Linked DNA regions of Homo sapiens: all the other regions are linked to region 1. The links are contacts of gene promoters, found by promoter capture Hi-C in blood cells and fetal thymus (Javierre and others, 2016). All regions are on one chromosome and are shown on one strand. The core of a region is centred on a gene start or on the middle of the fragment in contact, and the rest is flanking DNA. Distances in the headings are between cores, read along the strand shown. Region 1 holds the start of COL19A1 (collagen type XIX alpha 1 chain). Region 2 overlaps LMBRD1 (LMBR1 domain containing 1). Region 3 overlaps COL19A1 (collagen type XIX alpha 1 chain). Region 4 overlaps COL19A1 (collagen type XIX alpha 1 chain).

Region 1 (3,070 bases), core at 33-2,532:
TTTTTCAAATGGCCATTTGAGTAGCGTGACTCATGCAATATCCTCCCTCCTTGGCCTCTTTCCACAGTCAGCCAAAAATTAGTGATGAAAATCATATGAGAAGGAAATGTATCAAGTGGTTTTAAATCCTGACATAGAAACATGGTTTGCATCACCATGAATGCCGAACTCTAAAACTGCAGGTATCTTGATTAGGTTGAGAGAGAAGTTTAAAAATCACAAGTGATACTTTAATGGTTTCACTCCAATGAAGTGGAAAGGAGCTATCTTTTAACATTTTTCTTAACATCTTTATTTTTTGCCTGCCTGATTTTATTTATTCCTTGATCTGTGAGCTCTGATATGTGAAGTGTATTTCTATGGTTCTAAGGTAACTTTTAAGCTTGATGATTTTCACCATTGTGGATCAATAATATAATTTATCCTATTTCTCCCACTGTGGCAATACTGAAATAAAAATGTAAAACCAGTTTATCTGTTTTCTAATGCCTGGTTTACTCTTCTGAATTCTATAAATCATTCTGTTTTTCATATATACACATACATATGCATACACTATATGTATACATATAAATTTACTATATATGTATATATACCTACAAATATATATGCCTACAAGTATCCATATATACCTCCTATATATGTATATAAACCTACTATATATGCCTACAAATATATATATACTCTCTCTACACACACATACATGCACCTACACAGAAATCTGCAGGAAAATGACACTTTCACATATTCAAAGGGATCCCAAAAGAGTTCAAAAGCCAAGATTGGAAGCACCAACCCATGGAAAGATGTATTTAAAATCACAAAATACTTCTGTGGACACTGAGAAAAACCAAGCCACACAAACGTTTACATATGAGCGTGATTAGAAGGTGGGCAGACTGCCTTAATCAACTTTATATAAACTCTTGACATAAAAGTGAAAAAATGAAACATAAATGATATATTTTCTTAGCTCAACCGTTAAAAAGCCAATTACCTACTCGTGAACGTTTGCCACATACAATAATACTTTGAAGACACTTCATGATCAGAAGTGAGAAACTCTAGGCATTTGCATCCAACCGTCATTTTATCTGTGAAACTGCTAGTAAAACATAAACCTGAAAGGCATTACTCCCAGCTCTAAGGCGACATCGCTGTCATTAAAGAAAACCTGTGCCTGAGTTGGCTGAGTACCTTCTTGCAGAGTCCTCTGTCCTCGCGGAGTGGGAGGGTCACACTGGGAGAGACTAATAAGGGCAGAGATGCGTCCCCCTTCCCCACTCGCAGGGAGCTCACTCCTCGGCGGTGCCGCAGCCCTGTCCGGACTCCACTGCGCCTCTGAGGGGCTCAAATACGAATTCAAGGTAAGCTGCGCGGCTTTGCGACCGGCTCTGCACTTGCCCTCTCACACATGCCCGGGCTATGTCATCTGCTCGTGTTCCTAGTTATCTGTGTGCATCTGCTTTTCAAGAAAATGTAAAAACTGTGCTACACATGGAAATATGTTTAGGTGGATAAATAATGCACACCTGCATACGTTTCCATAGGGGCCTTAAGGATGGGACCAAAAACGTTTGGCAGGAGACGGCCACTCTCATGTGGTACATACCATGTAGTTCGTGTTCCTATGTTCACATGATGCAGGCTTCATGCGTTACACCTAAGTTCTAGGTGGTTTTTCTGGCTATGTGTGTCTGTGAAGCGGAACTATGGAGCACTGCTGATGCGGGTAGGGACAGACATCAAATACATTACAAAAAAAATGGGGGGTTAAAGGAGTAAAACAAACTCACTATCAATTCATGCCGTTAGAGCGCTTTTTTTTTTTTTTTTTGACGGTGTTAGCCCTGGAAGCGAGGCAGCCAGTTAAGCGGCGTAAGCTAAGAGACGCGGGGTTCCGGTGCGGTGCCCTCCGGCCCGGGGTTACCTACTCCACATGTGGGTGTTTTTCCCAAGTGCGGCTTCTGGGGGGCGGCGCGGGCGCGGGCGGGGATTCCCGGACTCCAGCCCCACCACGTTCCGGAGCGTCCGGCCCTGTTCCTTAATTACCCTGCAGCATGCGCAGCGCGGTCGGCCACAGCGCCGCCGCCGTCCCCGCAGTCCTCCCTGCAGCCACCGCCGCCGCCGCCGGAACGTCCCAGTCGCGGCGCGAGGAAGACGCGGCCCCAGCCTCTGCCGCCTCCGCTGTCAGAGTCCCGAGGCCACCGCCGAGAGCGCGCCGGCGCCGCAGCCACAGCGGCCGAGAACCAGGAGGCGGCGCCGGGCGGCCCAGCTAGGGCGCTGCAGGGTCGCGAGGAAGTTTGTTGGCCCGGAACCAAGCACGCCGTCGGGCACGCTAGCTCCCCGAGAGCAGGCGGGCGCGTAAGCGAACCCCCTTAGAGGTTACGGAGGGAGCGGGAAGCCGGCAAGAGGGTGGGCAGAGGAGCTGGGGGACAGGCGGGTGCCACAGGAGCCCCCGAGGAGCTTCATTTGATGAGAAGGTGAAGAGGCAGAGGGGACCAGCGTGCCTTGTCAGCCTCAGGGGACAGTGGGCTGGAGAGCAAAAAGAGGAGGGCCCAGAATGCTGATAATAAGTAGTTTTAATAGAACAATCCGTGAATAGAGGCAAGAGAGTGATCATCGGCCACAGCTTGAGATTGGGAGATGGAAGAGTAAGGGAAATAAATTGCGCCACCTCCCTCAATCCCCAATTCCAAGACGACTCAGTCCCATCTTCTGCTTGGATAAGTCTGAGGAGGATTAAGATGTGAGGATAATCACTCTGCTGTAGGGGAATTTACATCTGCCTGTTAATGGAGGAGATGAAACAAACGCACACCAGTATCTATTTTCAACCACCACCCCTCCCCAAAAAGGAGAGAACACCAATGCCTCCCCCTCTGCCCGAATCAAACACTGCTATAATTCTTTAGGAGACTAAAGGGAAAAAAAAAAAAGAAAGAAAAGAGCCCCTGCTCGTATGTGGGGTCTTGGCATCTCCTTGTTTTTGAGTGGTGGGAAACTTGCAGGACCCTCTCTAAGTAGAGAGATCTTTGATATGGGCCTGCAAAGCTGAGATATTTAGGTA
Region 2 (3,110 bases), core at 246-2,745, 92 kb before region 1:
TTGCCCTTCTGCCATGGGATGACAGCAGGAAGGCCCTTACCAAATGCCAGTTCCTTCATCTTGAACTTCCCAGCCTCCAGAACTATGAGCCAATAAATTTCTGTTCCTTACAAATTACCAAGTTTTGAGTATTCTACTTTAACAGCACAAAACACACTAAGATAAACCTAAGTTCAAAATACATAAAAAAGTTTCCAGATACAAATTATCAGCACCTAATCAATAGGGAATGAAGAGAAACTTCCAAAAAACTCTCTTAGGTGCTCTAAAAGTATGGCATAGAAACTGGAACTGAAAAGCTTCCCGGTCCATCTTATTCTCCCTTAGTTCCATAACTTAATTCATCTAAATATGTGTATACTTTGACTCACTCCTATTTTTACTACAAAATTGTTTTAACAGCAAAAAAAAATTTTATTAAACACCTAATAAACTGGGATTTTTCTATGAACATCCATACAATGGAAAACAATGCAGTAAAAATCTTTTAAATGTACATATATAATATCTTCTTAACAGCTGCATTTGAAAAGACCAAATATTGTCAACAACCCCATTTTTCATCAACACTAGCATGGATAAACTACGGTATGTTAATATAGTAATAAGAATCAACAGAGTACTGTTGCCTGCATCAATATAGATGTTTCAAATATAATGTTACACACTGAAGAAGCCAAACACAAAACATTATGAACTATATGATTCAATTTACATCTACACACAAGATGATAGCCTGAAAACTAGTGTCAAGAGAAGAAAGTCTATGTGGATGATATGGTTTGGCTCTGCGTCCCCACTTAAATCTCATCTTGAATTGTAATAATCCCCATGTGTCATGGGAGGGACCCAGTGGAAAGTAATGGAATCATGGGGACGGGTATTTCCCATGCTGTTCTCATGACAGTGATTAAGTCTCACGAGATCTGATGGTTTTACATAAAGGGGAGTTCCCCTGCACATGCTCTTGCCTGCCACCATGTTAGATGTGACTTTGCTCCTCCTCGCCTTCCACCATGATTATGAAGCCTCCCCAGCCATGTGGAACTGTGAGCCCATTAAACCTCTTTTTCTTTATAAATTACCCAGTCTTGGGTATGTCTTTATCAGCAGTGGGAGAACAGGCTAATAACATGAGGAATTGATAGGCCAGTTACAGAAGAACTGAACAAAAATAGCCTCAAATAATTCCTGCTTAGGGTTTGGGATAGTTTTAATTCATTTACCCCCGCCTTTCATTAATTTCTTTTACATGAATTTCCTTTTACTTAATGTTTTTTCTCACTTCTTACTTTTGCATGCATGCAGGGGTTGTAGAAATAGGGAGAGGCCAAATATAAAGATAAAAATAAATTTGAAATAAAAACAAATTAGATAAAAGGCTAAAACACAGACAACATAAGGGATAAAAGGACTGCAAAGCAGGCTTAAATATGAAATTAAACAGAACTCAGAAGTCACTGCTAAGCCTGCATAGCAGGTCTAAATACAAAATTAAACAAAACTCAGAACTCAAAACTCACACGAGGGCAGTTTTATAAAAGAAAAGAGTAGGCTGAGTGTGGTGGCTTATGCCTGTAATCCCAACCCTTTGAGAGGCCAAGGTGGGAGTACTGCTTGAGCCCAAGGAGTTCAAGTTTACAATGAGCTATGATCACGCCACCGCACTCCTGCCCAAAATACAGTGAGATGGAAGGAAGGAAGGAAGGAAGGAAGGAAGGAAGGAAGGAAGGGAGGGAGGGAGGGAGGGAGGGAGGGAGGGAGGGAGGGAGGGAGGGAAGGAAGGAAAAGATGAAGAACTAAATAAAACATTCAAAAGAAATAAAAGGTACAAATCCTTAAAGTTTCTGGGGCGGGCATAACCTTCCCAGATGAGGGAGTCACCTGATCAGAGTCCTTAGGTGTGCAGGGAATAGGATGAAAATGAACAACTTTACCCTCTCATACTTCAACAAGCTCCAGAAAACTGAATCTGCTTTGTAAGTAGCTTCAGTTAATGAGGATTATTAATAACTAATCAACAGCTGGGGAGTGCTCACAAGGAGAAGCAGCAGGCAGCCTGATTTCTGCCAGCTTCTCAGAACAAAACACCCCAAATTCCATTAATATAACAGAAGATCCTTAAAAATGTGGTTTCCAGACCCTAGGATTTGCAGAGATCCTCTCAGGGTATTCACAACATCAAAACTGTTTGCATAATGATACTAAGATATTATGTGCCTTTCCACTATGTTTACAGTTAAACTAATGGTGCAAAAACAACAGTGGATAAAACTGCTGCCCCTTTACAGGAATCAAGATAGTAGACTCAAATTACACTAGAAGTCATTGTATTCTTCAGGGAGGAGGGAGATTTGAGCCTTTTATTCACAAAAGTCCCTTTTGAAGCAGTAAAAATTCTAGTGTCCACATTTGCATATATATCCTTTTAATATTCTGTGTGACAGGAAATACACATAAACCATGCTGTACTTGTGTCTCACAACATCTCAATTTTGTCTGCGCTCTTTGAGTTGTGAGCTACAGTAGCCACTTTTTTTTCAAAGAACATCATTTTTACTTGAAAGAACAACTGACAGATAAGCAATGGTTATCCAGACTTGATTATTAGACAGGCTTTCTCAAAAATGAACAGTGAGACTATCACTCCAAAGGAAATAAGTGACAGTATTTGTCACCAATGATAAAACTGAAGCTTTCAAGAGAAAATTAGAATGTTGGAAAACTTGAATCTATCTTTGAGTTTTACAGCATCTCAATATATACTTTTCTGATAAGAATAATGGCAATATTAACAAATGTGGTTTTTTCAATGTATAATGATATGTGTCAACATTCAGAAGACCTATATTATTCACTGAACAAATATTTTCCAAATGAATAAGGCATAATGTCAACTGTCTTATTTGGCATTTGACAAATGGACAAAAGATCCATTCAAAGTGCAAATGGGCCAATAGATTTCAATGTCATGGAGTATGAAAAAGCAGTGAGACTATAAATTTGAATCAGTAGTTTAAAAGTAGTTAACACTCCTAAACAATTTCATTGAGGAAGATGACTAAAACTTCTTTAGGAGTTTTAAGAGTTTAAACCTTTTTGATCAGTTT
Region 3 (2,864 bases), core at 99-2,598, 100 kb after region 1:
TGATTTTATTAGCACTAATTTTATATGCCACCTTTTGCCTTCAGTGGTTACTTTTGAAGATGTGATGGGGGAATGGAAAATGCTTAATAGAAAATGTCTTCACTTATCTATTTCATAGGTTAATCATTGATATTGTTTTCTTATCAAATGAATATTAAAAATAGCAGCAGTGAATTCATTCTTGTTATTCTGTTGCTTTTTTGTTTTCAGCATTAAAAATATATCAGCAATTATGATATGTCTCATATAGTCCTAGGCTCATAAGCTTGTTGGATAATTTATTTGGTAGCATTTTGTTCATTTATTTCAGATAGATAGATTTAACTTTTATATTTAACTTGTAACAGCAGAAATTAGATAATCAGACTATTTTTATACTAGTACCACAAATAAATAATGTCACCTGCAAGCAACTTTCTAAAATATTGACTTCTAGCATTAAATGTCATGAAATTATAGTAACTCAGAAAATCAATAGTGATCATTTGCTACTAGAAACAACAGTTATGGCTTTAAATAAATGAGGATTTTTACCCTGAAAAATCTTTTTACTTTTGTCAATTTCTCATTCAGTTGTTATGGTAATTACATGCAGGACATGAGAATTTGAATGAGTGGTTGTGACTTTGGGCCACTTAAAATTTGGTATTGAGTGAGAAAAAGCCCAAATAAGGATGTTTATATAATATACGTAAACGATTATTCAGGACATTCTGGGGCAGCATCTAGATCACTCAACAAGGAATCAACATTCTTAGTTTCTGGAGTACCACTCCTGAAAGAGCCTAGACTTGATGTTTATTTTGAAAGTGATGGTGACATATCGTAAAATAAATGGATTCACATATTTTTGTGTTCTGTGTTCCAGTCCAGCTCTGTAATGGCAGCTGTGTGAACTTGGATATGTTCCTAGCTTTCTTTATCATAGTTTCCTCTTTTATAAAATAAAGTTAATTACTACCTCACAGAATGACTGCAGGAATTAAATGAGTGCCGGTGAATAAAAGATGTTCAATAAATGTTAATATCCTCAGCAGCCAATATACAAAAGTAATATAAAATCTTAATATTTTGACAAAAATTTATTTGACAGAATTATTATATATCTTTATTTGTGTAATATTAATTCCTAATTTTTCTTGTGAATAAGTAAATAAAAGACAGGAGGCTATAGTAGTTAGCTACTGATATGTGACAAATCACCCCAAAACGTAGTGACTTAAAACGTTCATTTATTTAGCTTGTGATTATATGGTTTAGAAATTTACACTAGGCTTAGCTCAGTGATTTTTTTTTGTCTTAGTTGATCTTATCTACGTTCATTCATACAATTCGCCTGTGTTATCGGCAGGTTGTGCATCCAGGGACTATGCATCTGTGGATTCACCCAACCATGAATCAAAAATAAATATTGAGAAATAAAAATTAAAAATAACAATACAACAATAACAAATAATACAAATAAAAAACAATATAATCTAACAACTATTTACATAGCATTTACATTGTGTTAGGTATTATAAGTAAACTAGAGATTATTTAAAGTATATGGGAGGATATATGCAAATACTACTTCCTTTTTTATAAGGGACTTGAGCATCCATGGACTTTGTTATCAGCAGGGATCCTGGAACCAATCCCCAGCAGATTCTGGGGCAAGAGTGTGTATCTCTTCTCAGTTGCCAGGTTGGCTGAGGGTGGCTGGGCTAGTTTGGCCTCTGCTAGACAACATGTCTCCACTCCAGATGATCTCTCATCTTCCAACAGTTATCCTGGACTTGTCCTCAAGGTGAAGGCAGGGATCCAAAAAGAGGAAGCAGAAGCATATAAAGCCTCTTTAGCCTCCTTGCTCAGAACTAGCTTGCCCCCACCTCCATCACCACCATGTTCTACTGGCCAAAGCCAGTCTCAAACCCAGCCTAGATTCAAGGAGTAGGAAAATAGATTCCACCTCCTGATGAGAGAAGCTGCACGGACACATTGCCTAGGGTGTAAATATATGGAGAGGTGAAAAAAGGGGCCATTTTATAATAAATCTAACACAAATGATATAAAATTTTATTTTAAATTAACAGTAGAGTAGAAAGATTAAACAGATTTATCAACTTTACTTCATTTTTTTCCTTCTCCCATGGCCTAAAATATAATTCTTAAAGTTAGGTTTATATAGTGGGACTTGCAGACTGTGTCAAAACATATTTTGAATTTGAAATGGTAGAAATACTTTATATGTAATAGGAAAATATTATTTTAAAAATCTTAATTAGAATGGGAAAAAAGAAACACAATATATCAAATAATTAAACCAAGGAATGGTTTTGTACTTTTACATAGCAAAATGTACTTATTAACTTTATCTAAACTAAAACTGATACAAGAATAAATGGAAAAAACAAGTCAAAGTTGAAATTTTTTTTTAGGATTTCATGATTAAAGCTTCTTGGTGATTATGCCTATTATTTAAAACTAATGCAAGTATGTTAAATACTGCTATTATAAATATAGCACTTTCCCTTCATCACTCTAAAGCAACTGTCTACATGTTACCTTACTTCCCGTGAATTCTGTCTTGGTTCACCTTGCAGAGTTCTACTGAACATCAGCGTGTTATACAATTGTTTCCTTTACCCTAGTAACATGTAAACTAAACTTCTACAATTTTTAGGAAGGACTTACTTGTTTGATTTGACAGCTGACTTAAAAAATAAAGAGAACAGATGGAGCAAAATAATAACTATGATTTTAAAAATCATAGCAATTTATCTGTGGCCAATGATAATTGGTATGGGAGTAACCATGCCAACTTTCAATTATCCATGGTAGCAGGCAATTGGGAAAGAGTGATGGTAATCCCACAGCCAAGC
Region 4 (2,944 bases), core at 328-2,827, 87 kb after region 1:
ATGCTAAATGCTATCAGGAGCCTTCTTCACATTATTTCATTCACTCCTTACAACACCCCTGTGAGGTAAGATTTATTGTCACTATTTCACAGATTAGGAAACAGATCTAGAGAGAGAGAGGGAAAAAAAATTAAAAACTTCCCCTAACTTGGTACGGAGAAAATAGTAGAGTCAGGATTTGAACCTCTATCCATGGAAATCCATAGCTCTTGCCCCTTTGCCATATTACCTCATCTGGACAGCTCCTCAAATATTCAGATTTCATTTACACAGGCAGGTCTGAATTAGATCTTAAATTTGTTTGCCTGCCAGTTTAGTGAGTGAACTGCAGTTTGCTTCGGACATCCTGCTCCAAGGAGGGCTGTGTCCCTTCCCTTTAAATCCAAGGACCCCTTTTAAACTGTATCTGACCCTAGGGATTCTGACTCCCCCACCTTCATAAGATTGTGTTCACCTATTAAGAATCATTATGCATATGGTTTTTCACCAAATGAGAGGGTTTTGTCTAGCTTTACCTTCCAAAATAAGTATCATGGAAAAAAATTTGCTTGGTTTCCAAGTACAGGTTACATTTGAAGTGTGTTTTCAAACATTCCGCGCTTGACTCTCTGGAGATTCTTAATCTACCCTGCATGCCCACGTCCAGGCAGCTCAATCATGGGCACTCTCCAGATTAACCTTAATGCAACACCTAATGTAGAAATTTTTCTCTTACATTCTCCACCAAATAAATATATATAATTTATTTATCAAAAACAAAATTGTTTAACTTAGTACCATGGCTTTATAAAAATATAAAATAAATCAACCTTCTGGAAGTAAAAAAAGCTGTATATATTAAAGCACTTAAGAAGTACATCTGATAACATGATGAGAGAGTGGCCAAGCTGCATGTCTTAAAAATAGCTGGACTAACTATCATCATTATATGAGGATATGCTTTGTATGATGGGTCTTTTCACCATAAACTCTGAAGCCCTCAGCACTGCAGTGAGATGAGACTGAATGAGGCAGATCCATTGTTCCCTAACAGTCTTTGTATTTCTTTTCTGCTGGAAAATGAAATGACTATGATCTTTGAATCTTGATTTTCCCTAAAAAGACATTTTATGAGAAGACTGCAGCTTCAGAAAATAAAGGCAGATGCTGTTACAGTTTATGTAAGTGCAGACAAGGCCAATCACTGTTGTGAATTATAATGAACTTTCTAACAGTGCTGGTCCAGATGTAGCATTAATGCTTCAGAGACTCAGAAACTTATAGGCAAGTAGTATAAAAGCTAGAGAATTTTAAGCCATTTGGCTTCCTCTCTATATTTCTAGCCTCACCTAATTTTTCTGTGCTTAATTTTAGACTTCCTAAGTTTAAAACATAATTTAAAATGCCTAATGCATGTGACAATTTATTATAGAAATTGAGGCCATTAAATGAGGAGGAAAAAAAAAGACAACTTAGCTTTATTCTATCAATGGAATACTTCCTGCCTATGAAATTGTTAGGCTTTATAAAACAAGAATGTTTTCCACTTTAGAGAAAAATACCTCTTAAGCAGAGAATCACCTGTATATCTGTGTAATTTAGAAAATTCTCTAATGAGTGAAGGTATAGTCAAATCTACACACAGGATTGAATTTTTAATCATAATTAGTATTCATAGAAAAAAATGACCACAAAGAAAACAGTTTTGTAAGCCTACTTGTTGGCTTTACTTGTTAAAGGTAGGAGAATAAAACTTGAATTATCAGTGAAAAACTATTGCTCTTACATGGAATAACTGTCATTTAATTGTCTTATCTATAGACATATATTGATACAATATAGCACTAAAATAAGCAGAAACATAAGAAGGACAAAGTAATAGAAGGACAGGAAAAAGAAAAAGAAACTTGCTCACTCTGCAGCTGATTTTATTTCTTAATGGTTTCTTATTCCCTTCTAATGCCTTCCACTCACACCCCAAGTAGAGCAGTTGGCAGGGAACACAACAGATGGATGACAAGCTCACCACATGCCATGTATCTGGCACCCAGGCACTTGACTTTTATTTGCTAAACAGTCAGATTTCAAGAACCTAGTCTGCTAATGTTCCTGTTTGGTTTAATGTACTACCAGCTTCTAGCACGTAAATATTAAAATATTGCCATAAGAAAGCTCACACACTCTGTGTTTCTCTGCATAGTTAAGTGGCTAATTATTTTATTCTTGGTGTAGATACTGAACAGTGGATTTAAACATATAACTGGTATTTTATAAAGACATCTATGATTTTAGATATTAGAGTTTCCTTAAAGTGGCTCTATCTAAAGGAGCTTTTAGCCAGACACATCAGGGACTGCCAAAGCCGGTGTAAGGTATTGAATGAACCTGTTAGGGAAGACTAGAAGATTTGAGCAGATGATCACAGATGATTGGTATCTTTCTTTTCTATCTCCATCACTGCATTTTCAGATTATTAAACTCAAAACACATGCATTTTTTTCATGAATTCTCCCAGGCCACCAGGCAAAATTACAGCTTATCCACTCAGCTCACATAGCACTTTATTTATATCACCAATGTAGAGTGTGTCTATACACCCTGCTAAAATGTGAGCTCCTGGAGTAGAAGGACTTGGGGTCTGTCTCATCTCTAATCCCAGCAACTGACCCAGCGTATGGTACCTGGCTGGTTCTGGATAAGTGTTTGTTGAGTTGTTCAGAATTCGAGGACTTAGCCCCAAGCCAGAAATAGAGAAGAGAAATAGAGAATGACTGTTAGAAAACTTCGCTGAGGAAAGATCGGAAAAGCACCCCAATGCCAGCAACACTTCAGTGAAAGTCCTTCGTACTTTCTACAGAAGCATAATTTAGGGAAACAAGGGAATCTCTTCTTTGCACAACAAAGTTTACAGGTATTGCTTCCTAGAATTAAATATAATAGAAGTGTGTGCATCTCCAGAATTTGC

Evidence for each region. Contacts are between HindIII fragments. The CHiCAGO score rates a contact against its expected background, and 5 or more counts as called.
Region 2: a fragment that was not itself captured here is called in contact with the fragment with the promoter of COL19A1 in region 1 in 2 of 17 cell types (naive B cells and total B cells); the score reaches 10.7 in naive B cells.
Region 3: a contact is called between a fragment that was not itself captured here and the fragment with the promoter of COL19A1 in region 1, in 2 of 17 cell types (naive B cells and total B cells). The highest score is 10.2, in naive B cells.
Region 4: a contact is called between a fragment that was not itself captured here and the fragment with the promoter of COL19A1 in region 1, in 2 of 17 cell types (total B cells and naive B cells). The highest score is 8.6, in total B cells.

Annotation. Positions count from the first base shown.
Region 1 is chr6:69,865,274-69,868,343 of GRCh38, forward strand. COL19A1 (collagen type XIX alpha 1 chain) reads left to right here and starts at 1,283. Exons shown (of 51, transcript NM_001858.6): 1 at 1,283-1,367. RefSeq lists silencers at 1,921-1,970, 2,191-2,240, 2,251-2,320. The HindIII fragment of the contact is 9,714 bases long and covers 381-3,070 here.
Region 2 is chr6:69,773,258-69,776,367 of GRCh38, forward strand. All of the region lies in intron 3 of LMBRD1 (LMBR1 domain containing 1), which reads right to left. Among named protein-coding and RNA genes, the nearest start is that of LMBRD1, 22 kb to the right of the region's middle. The HindIII fragment of the contact is 2,396 bases long and covers 298-2,693 here.
Region 3 is chr6:69,968,122-69,970,985 of GRCh38, forward strand. All of the region lies in intron 11 of COL19A1 (collagen type XIX alpha 1 chain), which reads left to right. Among named protein-coding and RNA genes, the nearest start is that of COL19A1, 100 kb to the left of the region's middle. The HindIII fragment of the contact is 2,171 bases long and covers 264-2,434 here.
Region 4 is chr6:69,951,695-69,954,638 of GRCh38, forward strand. All of the region lies in intron 9 of COL19A1 (collagen type XIX alpha 1 chain), which reads left to right. Among named protein-coding and RNA genes, the nearest start is that of COL19A1, 87 kb to the left of the region's middle. The HindIII fragment of the contact is 5,402 bases long and covers 1-2,944 here.